Regions from separate parts of the Homo sapiens genome. Here all the other regions are linked to region 2. The links are contacts of gene promoters, found by promoter capture Hi-C in blood cells and fetal thymus (Javierre and others, 2016). All regions are on one chromosome and are shown on one strand. Each heading gives the region's core, a stretch centred on a gene start or on the middle of the fragment in contact. The rest is flanking DNA. Distances are from core to core; before and after follow the strand shown. Region 1 overlaps CDH23 (cadherin related 23). Region 2 holds the start of SLC29A3 (solute carrier family 29 member 3). Region 3 overlaps CDH23 (cadherin related 23).

The links. The method cuts DNA at HindIII sites, captures the fragments that hold promoters and counts their contacts. A CHiCAGO score of 5 or more calls a contact.
Region 1: a contact is called between a fragment that was not itself captured here and the fragment with the promoter of SLC29A3 in region 2, in 15 of 17 cell types (megakaryocytes, naive B cells, total CD4 T cells and 12 more). The highest score is 9.6, in megakaryocytes.
Region 3: a fragment that was not itself captured here is called in contact with the fragment with the promoter of SLC29A3 in region 2 in 1 of 17 cell types (naive B cells); the score reaches 6.5 in naive B cells.

The regions. Positions count from the first base shown.
Region 1 is chr10:71,559,638-71,563,359 of GRCh38, reverse strand. All of the region lies in intron 6 of CDH23 (cadherin related 23), which reads right to left. Among named protein-coding and RNA genes, the nearest start is that of CDH23-AS1, 50 kb to the right of the region's middle. RefSeq lists enhancers at 245-768, 769-1,292. The HindIII fragment of the contact is 6,224 bases long and covers 1-3,722 here.
Region 2 is chr10:71,317,659-71,321,472 of GRCh38, reverse strand. It overlaps SLC29A3 (solute carrier family 29 member 3), which reads right to left and starts at 2,214. Exons shown (of 6, transcript NM_018344.6): 1 at 2,163-2,214. The coding sequence starts at 2,163. It overlaps LOC124902445 (a long non-coding RNA gene), which reads left to right and starts at 1,810. Exons shown (of 2, transcript XR_007062183.1): 1 at 1,810-1,911; 2 at 2,569-3,504. RefSeq lists a silencer at 1,968-2,417. The HindIII fragment of the contact is 7,819 bases long and covers 1-3,814 here.
Region 3 is chr10:71,541,762-71,545,425 of GRCh38, reverse strand. All of the region lies in intron 6 of CDH23 (cadherin related 23), which reads right to left. Among named protein-coding and RNA genes, the nearest start is that of CDH23-AS1, 32 kb to the right of the region's middle. RefSeq lists enhancers at 906-1,415, 2,667-3,246. The HindIII fragment of the contact is 172 bases long and covers 1,318-1,489 here.

The DNA.
Region 1 (3,722 bases), core at 328-2,827, 240 kb before region 2:
TGGGGGCCTGGGAGGCTCCTAAACGAGGAAGCCAGTCCTGACCATACACCACCCTGGATGGCTGGAATGCAGGAGCTGGAAGGAACCTTGGGGTCATCTAGTCCAGCCTCCCCATTTCCTAGGGTGGACTACAGATGTGAAAATGAGCCCAGAGAGGGGATGTGCCTTGCTCCAGGCCTCACAAGTGGATCATGACAGAGTCGAAGAGTGGAAATCGGGTGCCTTGACTCATACGGAGTGCTCTTTCCACCCCACCCAAAGAGATACCAACAGCTGCCTCCCCACCCACCCTCCTTCCAAGAACAGCTGCTCCTCATGACCACAGCTCTGCTCTAGGTGATGGGTCTAGGCACTCATGTTTGTTCCAAGTGACTTCAGACCCAGGCCATGCCAATCAGGTGGGGCCTGAGAAATTAAATCAATTTTCTCTGAGAATCTGAAAGAAAGATCTTGTTATCTGGCTGGAGTGGGCACCATGACAGGCCGAGAGCCACACAAAAGCCACAGTTACAGGGTGGCAGAGATGCCACAGGCAGTCAGAGGAAGCCCACCTGCAGTGAGCGGAGCAGAGCACAGTGCAGGAGAAAAAATGGAGATGAGGGCCTCCAAGAGCCTCCCACCCTGGCTGTCCCAGGCCCCGCTGACTTTGTCTCCTGCCCATGGCTGCGGTGCTGGGACCTGCCTGTGCCGTCCTTTCTATGGGCACCCCACTTGCTCACGCTGGCCTGCATGGGTCTCAGCTCCTTGCTCCTGCCCCCCAGAACATGCCCAGCCATGGGCAGGGCCTCCTCATTTCCATGGCTCTGCCCCAGGCTCACCCAGACCCTCTGCTGATGGGACTCTACCTCTTTAGCGCCCACAGCAAGCAAAGTGCCAGGCCACCACTCCTGGACTGCTAATGAGGGCACAGTGCCCGCCACCCGAGGCTGGAAGTTACAATGGGGAGAAGAATCAAGGAGCCTGGGTAAATGCCAGCTCCCTCTTCTTTTTAACCGTCTCCAGACACTCCTATTAACGTGCAAATCCAGGTTGCAGGCAATTATCAGCATGCGCATGGGGAGGTGGCCGGACGGGCAAGGGATGGCTTGATCATGGACTTCACACAGTCAGCCAGGACAGGCCTTGAAGAGAGATGCTCGGCAGGGCCAGACTTTGCCATCTGAGGACAAGGAGAATGAGTGGAAGATGTCGCTCTGGTGTCTGGGGTGGGGTTCGGGGCGTCTGGGGTGGGGCTTGGAGTGTCTGGGGTTGGGGCTGCACGGGTTGGAGTTGTAGAAGCAGCACCAAGAGGCCTGTTGCAGCTGGGGGTTGGGCTCCTCCTTTCCAGGGTAGCTTCTTCCAACACCTCCATTGTGGACACTCGCCCTGGGTCCAGCTTCTTGCTGGAAAGGAGCAGCCGTGGTCTTTGGAAGAAAGACCCCATGGGGCATGATCACTTCTGCTTCTGAGGGAGGCCTCTTGACCCACTTCTCTGCCCCACCCCTGCTTCCCTCCTCCCCTCCTTCATGGTACCCCCCTGCCCAGTCCCACCTACTCCCTTATGGCTTCTGGGCCATTTCAAAGGAAGTCTCCCCAAATGTACACCCATGCCTTCAGGGGACCAGGGAGCATGTCTAGGCATTATCCCCTTCAAAATTCTTGCACCTGCCAGGTTGTCTCTCTCGCCAAGTAACCCACGGCAGGTCTTGCCTCTTCCAGTTCCCATTTAAGCTCCATATCACTTCTGATGGACCTGCTGTAAATGGGCCACCCTGTGCAATTCAGAGACAAATAAATCTTTTTGCTACTCCTGGGGTGACAAGGGAATAGACTCTGGGAAAGTTCTGCCGTGCAAAGGATCTTGTTTGTTAATAATAATGATAAATAGCTCACTTCTCACATGCAGTGTGAGTTACATTACACTCCAGGCCTCTCCAGAGGTGGCTAGGTTGCTCACTGGAACAGGGTGAGGGAGGGTGTGCAGCAAGGGAGAAAAGGCCAGAGGGAGTGGGGCAGAGAGGCAGGAAGGAGGAACCAGACAGAGAGAGCAGTAAAGAAAGGGGGGCAGGGAGGAGGGGCAAGGAGAAGGAAGAGCACAGGAACACAGAGGAAAATGCGGTGAGAACAGTGAGAGGGGCAGGACTGAGGGCCAGAGTGAAAACGGGATAAAGTGGAAAGATAATTTGCGAGAGAAAAGGGAGGAAAGGAAACTTGGGGAGAAAGGAACTAACTGAAACAGGAAAAAAAAGAGACATTCTAGAGGAAAACTTATGAACAGAGGAAAAGACATACAAAAATTAAGCAGCAAGAGAAAGGAAGATAGGAGAGAGAGAGAAAAGAAGGACGCCACACCCTCTCACCTTTAGGGTGCACCTGCTCCCTTCACCCCCTTCAAGATTTATGCTGTACCCTTGACCAAACTTTGGCAAAAAGCCCTACCATTTCCACCATAGGTGCCATCTCTAAAGGTGTTATTAATATTTATGGAATGCTTGCTAGATGCTGCTACAGTCTTTAATATCTTATTACAGAGCCTGTTATAAAATGCATTAGTAATAAATTCCTGACAGATGGAGTCCTGACAAGGTGCAGGCTTCTCGGTGGATCAGAGCTGGTAACAGCCTCCTGTGCTACTCAGAGGCTGGGCAGCTGTCTGCTGGGGCTGGGGTGGGGAGAGGAGAGGGGCTAGTGGGATTCTGCCCTCCCATCCTCTGCCCTCAGTTGCATTTTTATACACCTCCGCTCCCTGCTTCCTTTTCCCAGATGGGGAAAATGGAAGGTCAGAGAAATGAAGCCACTTGTCCAAGGTCGCACAGATTGTAAGTGGTGGAATCAGGATTCAAAGTCGGGTCACCTTTCTGTGCCCAGACCTCAGGATTCCAGAGAAAAGGGTGGAGAGTGGGCTCAGGGCCCCTCCTCAAGTGGGACTTCCTGGTCTGGAAGGGCTGGGGATGAGGGTGGCAGCTGAAGACGCCTCTAGGTAAGAGAACAGAGGTTTGGTGGGGAGCTGTAGCCAAAAAAGAGCTTAGGAAGGAAGGAGGGTACTTCAAAATTGCACACTTTCACTGAGAATAAGAAAATGGGCTCCCATTGGAACAAGAAGAATTCAAGTCAGAGGCAAGGAACTTTCTGAACATGGGCTCCTGGGGCAGAGGAGAAACATCTGCACTTCGGTTTCTGTTGGATGCTAAAGCAGGCGCCTCTCCTACTGGGATGCTTTGGGAGGATGTCACTTCCAAATATGGGGGTTTGTGGCATTCCAGCTTATGGGGGAGCAGTGATGGAGGAGAAATGGGGTCTATGGGAGAGGTGGGCTATGTTTCTTTCTCAAATAGGCAGGAAGGCACTTGAGCGCAGGAGGACGAGGTCCACACAGAGGACAGTATAGGGGAGAGAAGCAGGAGGGGCGAATGCCCATGGGGCACCAACACATATCTCAGGGAGCCCCATTCTGGTCAGGGAGGGGCACATGTGTGCATAAACCCATGTGTACCCATACTCCGGCATCTCTGCCTGGAGGAATCGGGGAGCGATAATTTGACGACATCTCTTCTTTCTACCAGTATTTGCTCTCTTGGGTGAAATGTACTGGATCTAAAATGTGCCAGGTATGCTCTGAGAGCCGGGGTGGGCTGCCAGCTCTGTGGCCTGGGCCCTAAGTCACTCACACCCTGACATGGCTCGAGGACATCTCTCTGGGCCTAAGCTGGTCTCCCCAGCTGTTCTGGTCTCCTCCAGAGCCA
Region 2 (3,814 bases), core at 965-3,464:
CCAAAATGCTGAGGATGGGACACTTCAGAGTCCCTTCTGCAGTAGCCTCTTCCCCACCCAATAAACTAATAAATAAATGCATCTTGGTTTCTATAGGAGGCTAAGCCTAACTCAAAGCATCGTACCAAGAAGACTGGGGCCTTTATTCCCTGGTGGGATGGGAACACCTCCTCACATGGGTGCAGAACCTTATCCACTATTTCAGGAGAACCTCAGAGCATCCCTTGGAATTAGGCAGGGCAGAAAACATTGCCCCCTTTTTTCAGATGGAAAAACTGAGGTCTGGAAGGCACTTGCTATGTCCCACAAATAGAAAGAACTCCCAATAGCTAAACTTAAGTCCAGTGATCACAAATGCCAAGGTCTGTGCCTAACAGAGGTCACACTTGAGGCTGACAACAGCCTAATATATTAGGTACTACTCTAAGACCCATTTCACAGAGGGGTCTGAGGCTCAGAAAGGTTGAGTAACTTGCCCAGGGTCACATAACTAGTAGATGACAAGAGTGAAGTTACACAGCCAAGCAGACTGGGGCCCATGCTGGACTCCTCAGCACACCGGGGAGGACTGGCTGGGAATGGGAATCTGTGTCTGCTGGTTCCAAGTACAGGCATCCTTCCTGCAAGCCTTGAAGCCAGTGAGTCGGGAGGGGCCCAGGCACACTGCAGGCACCCTTGTCAATGTTTGCTGAATGAACGGACTCTGCACGACCAGGACATTCTCCCCTGCTGGGGTAGCATGTACCCTGGAGCCAGCAGGTGGGGGGCCACTGGATGCCCAAGTGCAATGCATCCAGCCAGCAAGTCTATTTTAAACTCCCCTGGTTAGCAGAGCCCCTCCCCAGCCTGGATTCGCATGGAGGCCAGCATTAACAAGCTCACTGTCTGGAAGCTCACTGTGTGGAAAATCGCTTTTTCCACATGCACCCACTCATAGAGGAAAAGCCATGTGAAGGCACAGCAAGAAGGAGGCTGTCTGCAAGCCAGGAAGAGAGCCCTCATCAGAAACCAAATCAACCAGCACCTTGATCTTGCCCTTCCCAGCCTCCAGATCCATGAGAAACAAATTTTGTTTAAGCCACCCAGTCTATGCTATTTTGTCTGGCACAAAATGGTACAAATGTAACAAGCTCACTTGTTACATTTTAAAAATTAGTGTTTAAAATGTAAAAAATAATCATGACCCACCCACATAGAACAAGAGAGAACCGGCAAGTGGTTCTTTCCAGAGGCTCCAGCTACCTGTGGGGGCGGCTAGAAGGTCCACCAGCCCTGTCACTCAGGACCACACCTGGCTAGGGCCCCCTTCTCAGTTCCTAGCGTCTATTTGTCAAGGCTTGACTGAGCTTCTGAAGAAGGAGCCAGGAATTTTCTCTAACCAGGGTCACAGGCCAGGGCACTGGAGTGAGCAAAGTCTTATTAGTCTTTATAAAAGCTAGCTGCTGGCTTCTGGATTAAAAAATAAAGAGAAAGGCAGGCAAGGAAGTGCCCAACCTTCCCCAAAACAAGCTGGCTGTGGCCTGGAACGTGCTCCTGGGTCACCTGCGGGAGCCCGGCCATGCACAGACAGACAGCCCCACACAAGGAGGCAGGCACTGCTGGGGCCGCGGCAAAACCTCATCTGGGCTGGGAAGCCTGGGTGCTGGTTCCAAGGAGGTTCCTGACTCTGGCTAGGTGGCTCGCCCCTCTGTGCCTCGATCTCCTGGGCTGTGAACCGGGGTGGGGAGCTGGTAGGGCTAACCTGTGGGAAGGCACTGGGAAGCGCAGGGCACCGCCTACTGGCCGCGGCAGAACCGGCTTTGCGGTGTAAACAGCCCCAGCCTCAGGCCCCGCAGCTGGGACCGAGAGAATCAGCCACCGTCTGGATACTTCGGGCCGACGGGTCCATACCAGGCCCCCACCATACAGGCGGTGAGGTCCAGTCTCAGGGAGGAGGAGGGGAGAGGATTTGGGGAAGAGAAGATAGAGACCCAGAAAGAGGGGTGGCAGAGAGCAAGGAGAGAGAGGAGGGACGGTGGGGAAGGGACCACGGATGGGGTAGGGTCCTGCGGCTCCCCTGGCAGCCCGCAGCCGCCCCCAGGGCCCGGGAGGGAGGTCGCTGAGCGCGAGTCTGGGGGCGGCCGGGACCGTAGCCGGAAGAGCCCGAGCCGGCCCGCACTTACTGTCGCCGCTGCGCCACGCCGCCGCTGCCTCCGGCGCACGGCCAGGACCACTGGGCTTGGCAGGCGGCAGGCGGGCTCCTCCCCCGGCCCCGCCCCGCCCCTCGCGGCAGCACGCCGCCGCTTCCCCGTTTGCAAACACGCTTTTTTCCTTTGTCTTCTGCCGGCGCGCCGGGGCTCCCCCTTCTGGCGCTGAGCTGGGGCCTGCGTGCGCCCATTTTATAGGAGAAAAAGTGAGTCACCCAGTCTTAAACGCACTGCCCATGCTTGCGATGGGTGCGCTGCGCATCAGGCCTTTTGGTTGCTGCTCCTTCTTTACCTTGGAGCCAGACCCCACTGTCTCAGACCTCCCCTTTAGCTACTATAACCTGCACCCCAGGACTCAAAGGAGCCCTCATCTTGTCCCCAGGCCGCTGCAGAGACCCCTCTCCAAAGGCCGCTTCTACCCTTACCGGCTGCCGCTGCTCTGGAGGTGAAGCGGGACCCACACCCGGACTGAACTGGGCCTCCCAGGCCAGGCAGCTATTTTCAGTAGACCCAGAACATGGCAGTCAGCAATTCCAGCCCTCACACTTGACCTCAGCCATAGCGTGTAACACACAGCTGCCGCGTGTTCTTTAAGAAAGCAGGGGCCGGGCGCGGTGGCTCACGCCTGTAATCCCAGCACTTTGGGAGGCCGAAGCAGGCGGATCACCTGAGGTCGGGAGTTTGAGACCAGCCTGGCCAACATGGCGAAACCTCGTCTCTACTGAAAATACAAAAGTAGCCGGGCATGGTGGTGCGTGCCAGTGATCCCAGCTATGTGGGAGGCTGAGGCAGGAGAATCGCTTGAACCCGGGAGGCGGAGATTTCAGTGAACCGAGATGGTGCCACTGCACTCCAGCCTGGAGCCTGGGCGACAGAGCAAGACTCCATCTCAAAAAAAAAAAAAAAAAAAAAAAGGCGGAAACCTTCCTGACTCCCGGTCCTGGCCCAGTTGGCCTATTCAGAGCGGGGATCTGGATGCTTCACAGGGCCTGAAGATCTGTGACCATGGATAGTAAATTCTTGCAGTTGCCATCCCAGGGCTCAGGGGTGCCACAGAACCCATTGAGGCTGTCAGTGTGTGGACAGGTTCTCAGAACATCCCCACTCCCTGCCCCAGCCTCTCATTTTATAACCACCATTCCCCAAACACTGGCCTGATCATAAAAGTCTCGAGTACACATCCAGATTCTGGGGACCTCTCCCCAGGAGGGTTGCTGCCACTCCCCAATCCCTGAGGGTGGTGCTGTATCTGCTTTGTTTGCTCTTCCCTCATCGTGGGCACATAATTTGTGTTCAATAAATACCTGGATTAATACAACCCATCACTCAGGGGGTGCAGAATGGGGATCCAGAATGGATCTATTTAACAAGCTCCACCAGCAGGCGAGTTTGGAGACTAGCACCCTAAATTGTCAGAAAGCCCCCCGGCCCAGGAGAGGAAGGGGCTTAGCTCCAGGCTTACAAGCTGAGGGATAATGGTAAAATTACTAAACCTCTCTGAAACCCAGGGTCGGCTTAGGACTGTCGGGAGAATTAAGTCAGGTGATCCATGCCAGGCACTCAATGCAAATTTCCATCACTTCCAAGGAAGACACTCCCCACCCCCAAAATGTGATAGTGTATATGTT
Region 3 (3,664 bases), core at 154-2,653, 220 kb before region 2:
GCAGGCTCATTGATGACGACAACCTGAAGACAGCCCGAGAAAGTGGAAGGTGCAAACTGTCTCACTTTTAATGAAACGCACGGTGGATGAGAACGGTCTAATGGGTTTCTCCGAAGGCCACTGACCTCTCTGGCAGGGACAGCTGCTCTGTCCTCCCCCTCCCCTGCCGTGGCCTGGGAGCACGGTGCCTGTCTCAATATCACCTCTCCTCTCTGCAGTCTTCTTTCCCTCTTGTAGCAGGAGCTAAAGAGATTAAATGATCAACCCCCAGGAAAGGCTGGGGTGAGCACTGCTGTCTCTTTCAAGCTATTGCATCTGGTGCTTCTGGCCTAATGGCTGTTTAGTGGATGCGAATCCCTCCTTCGACAGTAACTTACAGGGTGGACGTGGCTTTCCCCTCCTGCTACTGTCACCAGGGGTTGGGGTCGGGGACTGACTCTGTCCCCAGGGTTACCCCAGGGCACACACTGCACCAGTCACAGACACCAGACCCCAGCCACAGACCACCTCCAACCTCTAAATCTAGCCATAAAATGACTCTCTAACTGTCAAGAAATTGGAACATCATTCGATGGGCTCCTGACTGGCGGAGAAGTCAACTGAAAATGATCCGACTCCCTTTGAAGGTGGGGAGAGTTAGAAAACGGAGCACTATCTTCTTCCCCCAGATAGCTGTGGCCAAAGTTCTTTGCCTCGTGGGTCTTGTCTGTGGCATTGGTGGCTTCTACTTCATGCCTGATTGTGGGAGGGGTATTTGGGGTGTGCAGCGTGTCCCAGGGCAACGTGCCTGTGGCCCCGGGCCTGGTGTAGGTATGCTCCTCCTCTTTTCCATCCCGGTCACTAACCGGTTAACCCTCTGCCAGCATTCCCACTCCTGTGGCTGGAACACAAGGCAGAGGGTGGGAGCGGGCGTGGGGCAGGCTCTGCTGGCAGGGCTCTGATTGCCTTGCCTGCCACTGTCCAGCCCCCAGCCTACTCCCATCGCCAGCTTCGTCCACTCTGCCCTCCCCCTGGTGAGGCTGGGGGTGATTGGAACCCCTTCTGCTAGAGCTGATTAGGCCTGATTTCACCAGCCTGCTTCCACCTCTGGAAACTTCCCCTGTTATTAGAGTTGTTTTCCGCCCACTCTCTCGGTCCACTGGATGAGGAGAGTTTATTTGATTTGATTTCTACCCCCATCTCCCTTTTTTCCGCTACTCCCGTCCACCTCTCCTGCATCTGTGGCAGCCAAGCAGACCAGAGTTCGGTAAAAACCAGGAAAATTAGCTTCTAACCTCAGGAAAGAGCTATAATAAAGCCAGGTGAATAATAAAAGCTTTATCTAACATAACTCTGATTAAAAGCTCAGGCCTGCCTCCTTATCCTATCCTGCCCCACGAGGACGAGGCTGGCCCTTTAAAGCAGCTGATGGTTGAAGGGATGGAAAATACAGCCTGCTCTTGCTTCCAATTTGCTTTTTTCCATCTTTTTTTTTTCTCCTTCTCAAGCTTTGTTTTACAAATTGGGGCACTCTCTAAGAGGCCCAAGGATCCGTCTGCTGCACTTCATTCTGCTCTACAGTACTTAGCAGCTTTGGGAGAACCAAGTCACTGTGAAGCAACAGGTCCCAGCAGCCCTGGGATCCTCCACATCCCCACATGGGGTGGGGTGGCTGGTAAGAGGGTGCTGGGAGGTTCAGCTCCACCCTGGCCCCTGAACTCTATAGAGCCTGAAGGTAATCACAGTGCCCATCTGGGCCTCAGTTTCCCATCTGTCAAATGGAAAGAACCTTTTCCCTTGCTAGAGTGGCTAGGAGAAGCATGAGGACTTGTAAAATTCAGATTGCTGATGGAAAAAAAATGGTTGACTTCCTCCCTCTTAGCTTGCACTGTTATAACCAGAATCATCTATGCGGAACTGGGTGAACAGGAAATCACTTGGCATGTATTCACCCGGCATGGACAGCATCGGCTGCATATGGACCCTAATAAACATGCTGTGGGCCAGACCCTGGAGAGGTCATTACCATCAGACATCTGATCTGTGGGTGCTTTGACAGTGAGGGTAAGGAGAGAGGGGAGCTGTCCCCATCCTCAGGTCTACTACAGCAAGGTTTCTTCCAGTGCTCTCTGGATAATGGAGGTCCTCGGGGACAACAGGCCTGAGGATGAGGGTGACAAGTTCTGGACCATACTGGGCTGCAGAAGTGAAAGCCCTGCTCCAGAAATCAGACACTTGGGTCCCCACCCAACTCCCTGTACTCCTGGGTGGGGCCGGGTGCTCAGCTCTCCGGGCCTTGGTGTCCACACCTGCTGAATGGGGCCCTGGAGGAACAGCGTCTCATAAGTCTGTGCATTCGGGCTGTTCTGAGAAGTTCTGGACTTGCTAGCCTTGCATTACAATGACCTTAGAGCACTGCAACGCTGGCCTCTGGACAGGCCTAATTCCACAAGGCAAGGGCACTCCCATCCAATTCCCCTTTTTGGTGGTTGTCCCCCACTTCAAAACCAGGGGCCCACTAAAGCCCCTAGGCTCACAGAAGCCCCCTGCACGCTGCCACCCTGGAAAGGGGCTTGCTGTTCAGAGCCTCGAAGAACCCGCTCAGCCTGTGCCTCCCCCAGGGGAAGGGGTGGGGAGAGCTGAAGTGTGGCAGCCTGGAGCCTGGCCCTGCTGGCTGGGCGGGTCAGTTTCATTCACCATTCCCAGCCTTCTCTCCCTCAGGGCACCAGGCTGTGGAGGCAGGAGTCTGGTGCTTTTCAATTTCACGCCAGGTATCAGCAGCCAGGTCTTGGCTGGCCTTATCTTCTCGGCCTCCTGCCTAGGTGGGCGCCTGCTGAGCTCAGCCTCCCTGCAAAGCCCAGAGAGAGGCTGTACAGGGCAAAGACTTGTGGGCAGAGGGGGCCCTGGAGAACTGACATCTGTTGGGCAGGCAGGGAGGCCAGGCCCTGAGTCCTGCCATCGGAGGTGGCAGCCTTGTGACCAAGAATCCTTAAGCACAGCAAGACCCTAAAGACAGAGGATTGAGGGCTGCAAATCACAGAGTCACAGATTAATCAATATTCTCCCAGCTGGACGATCCTAGGGATTCTTTTGTCCTCTATCCCACTCTCCCTCATTCTCCATATGAGGAAAAGGAGGTTCTGGAGAAAAGAAGTAACTTGCCCAAGGTCACATGGAGCGAGCAGAGCTGGGATCCAACCCCAGGCTGTGATGCCCAGATACCTGGCTGTTAATTACTAAGCTACGCCACCTTTCTATCTCCAAGTCAACTACATCGAAGATCCTGAGAGGGTCTTCACACACTGAGCGATCCCTAGATAGAAGGCGCCTTCCTCCTGCATGGGACCAAGCCACTGCCTCTCACAGCCTCAGTTTCCTTATCTGGAAAATGAGGAGAGGAAAAAAGTCCTTACCGTCTTTTGTAGATATAAATCAGGGGTCAGCAAACTATGGTCTGTGGGCCAAATCTGGCCCACTGCCTGTCTTTGTTGAAACCACCAGCAAAGAATGATTTTTACATTTTTAAGTGCTTAGCAAAAAATCAAAAGAAGAATAATATTTTGTGATGTGTAAAAGTTATATAAAATTCAAATCTCAGCATCTATAAACTTGTATTGGAACACGTTGTCCTCAGTCTTTTATATGCTATCTGTGGCTGCTTTTGTATCACAAGAAAGGTGAGTGG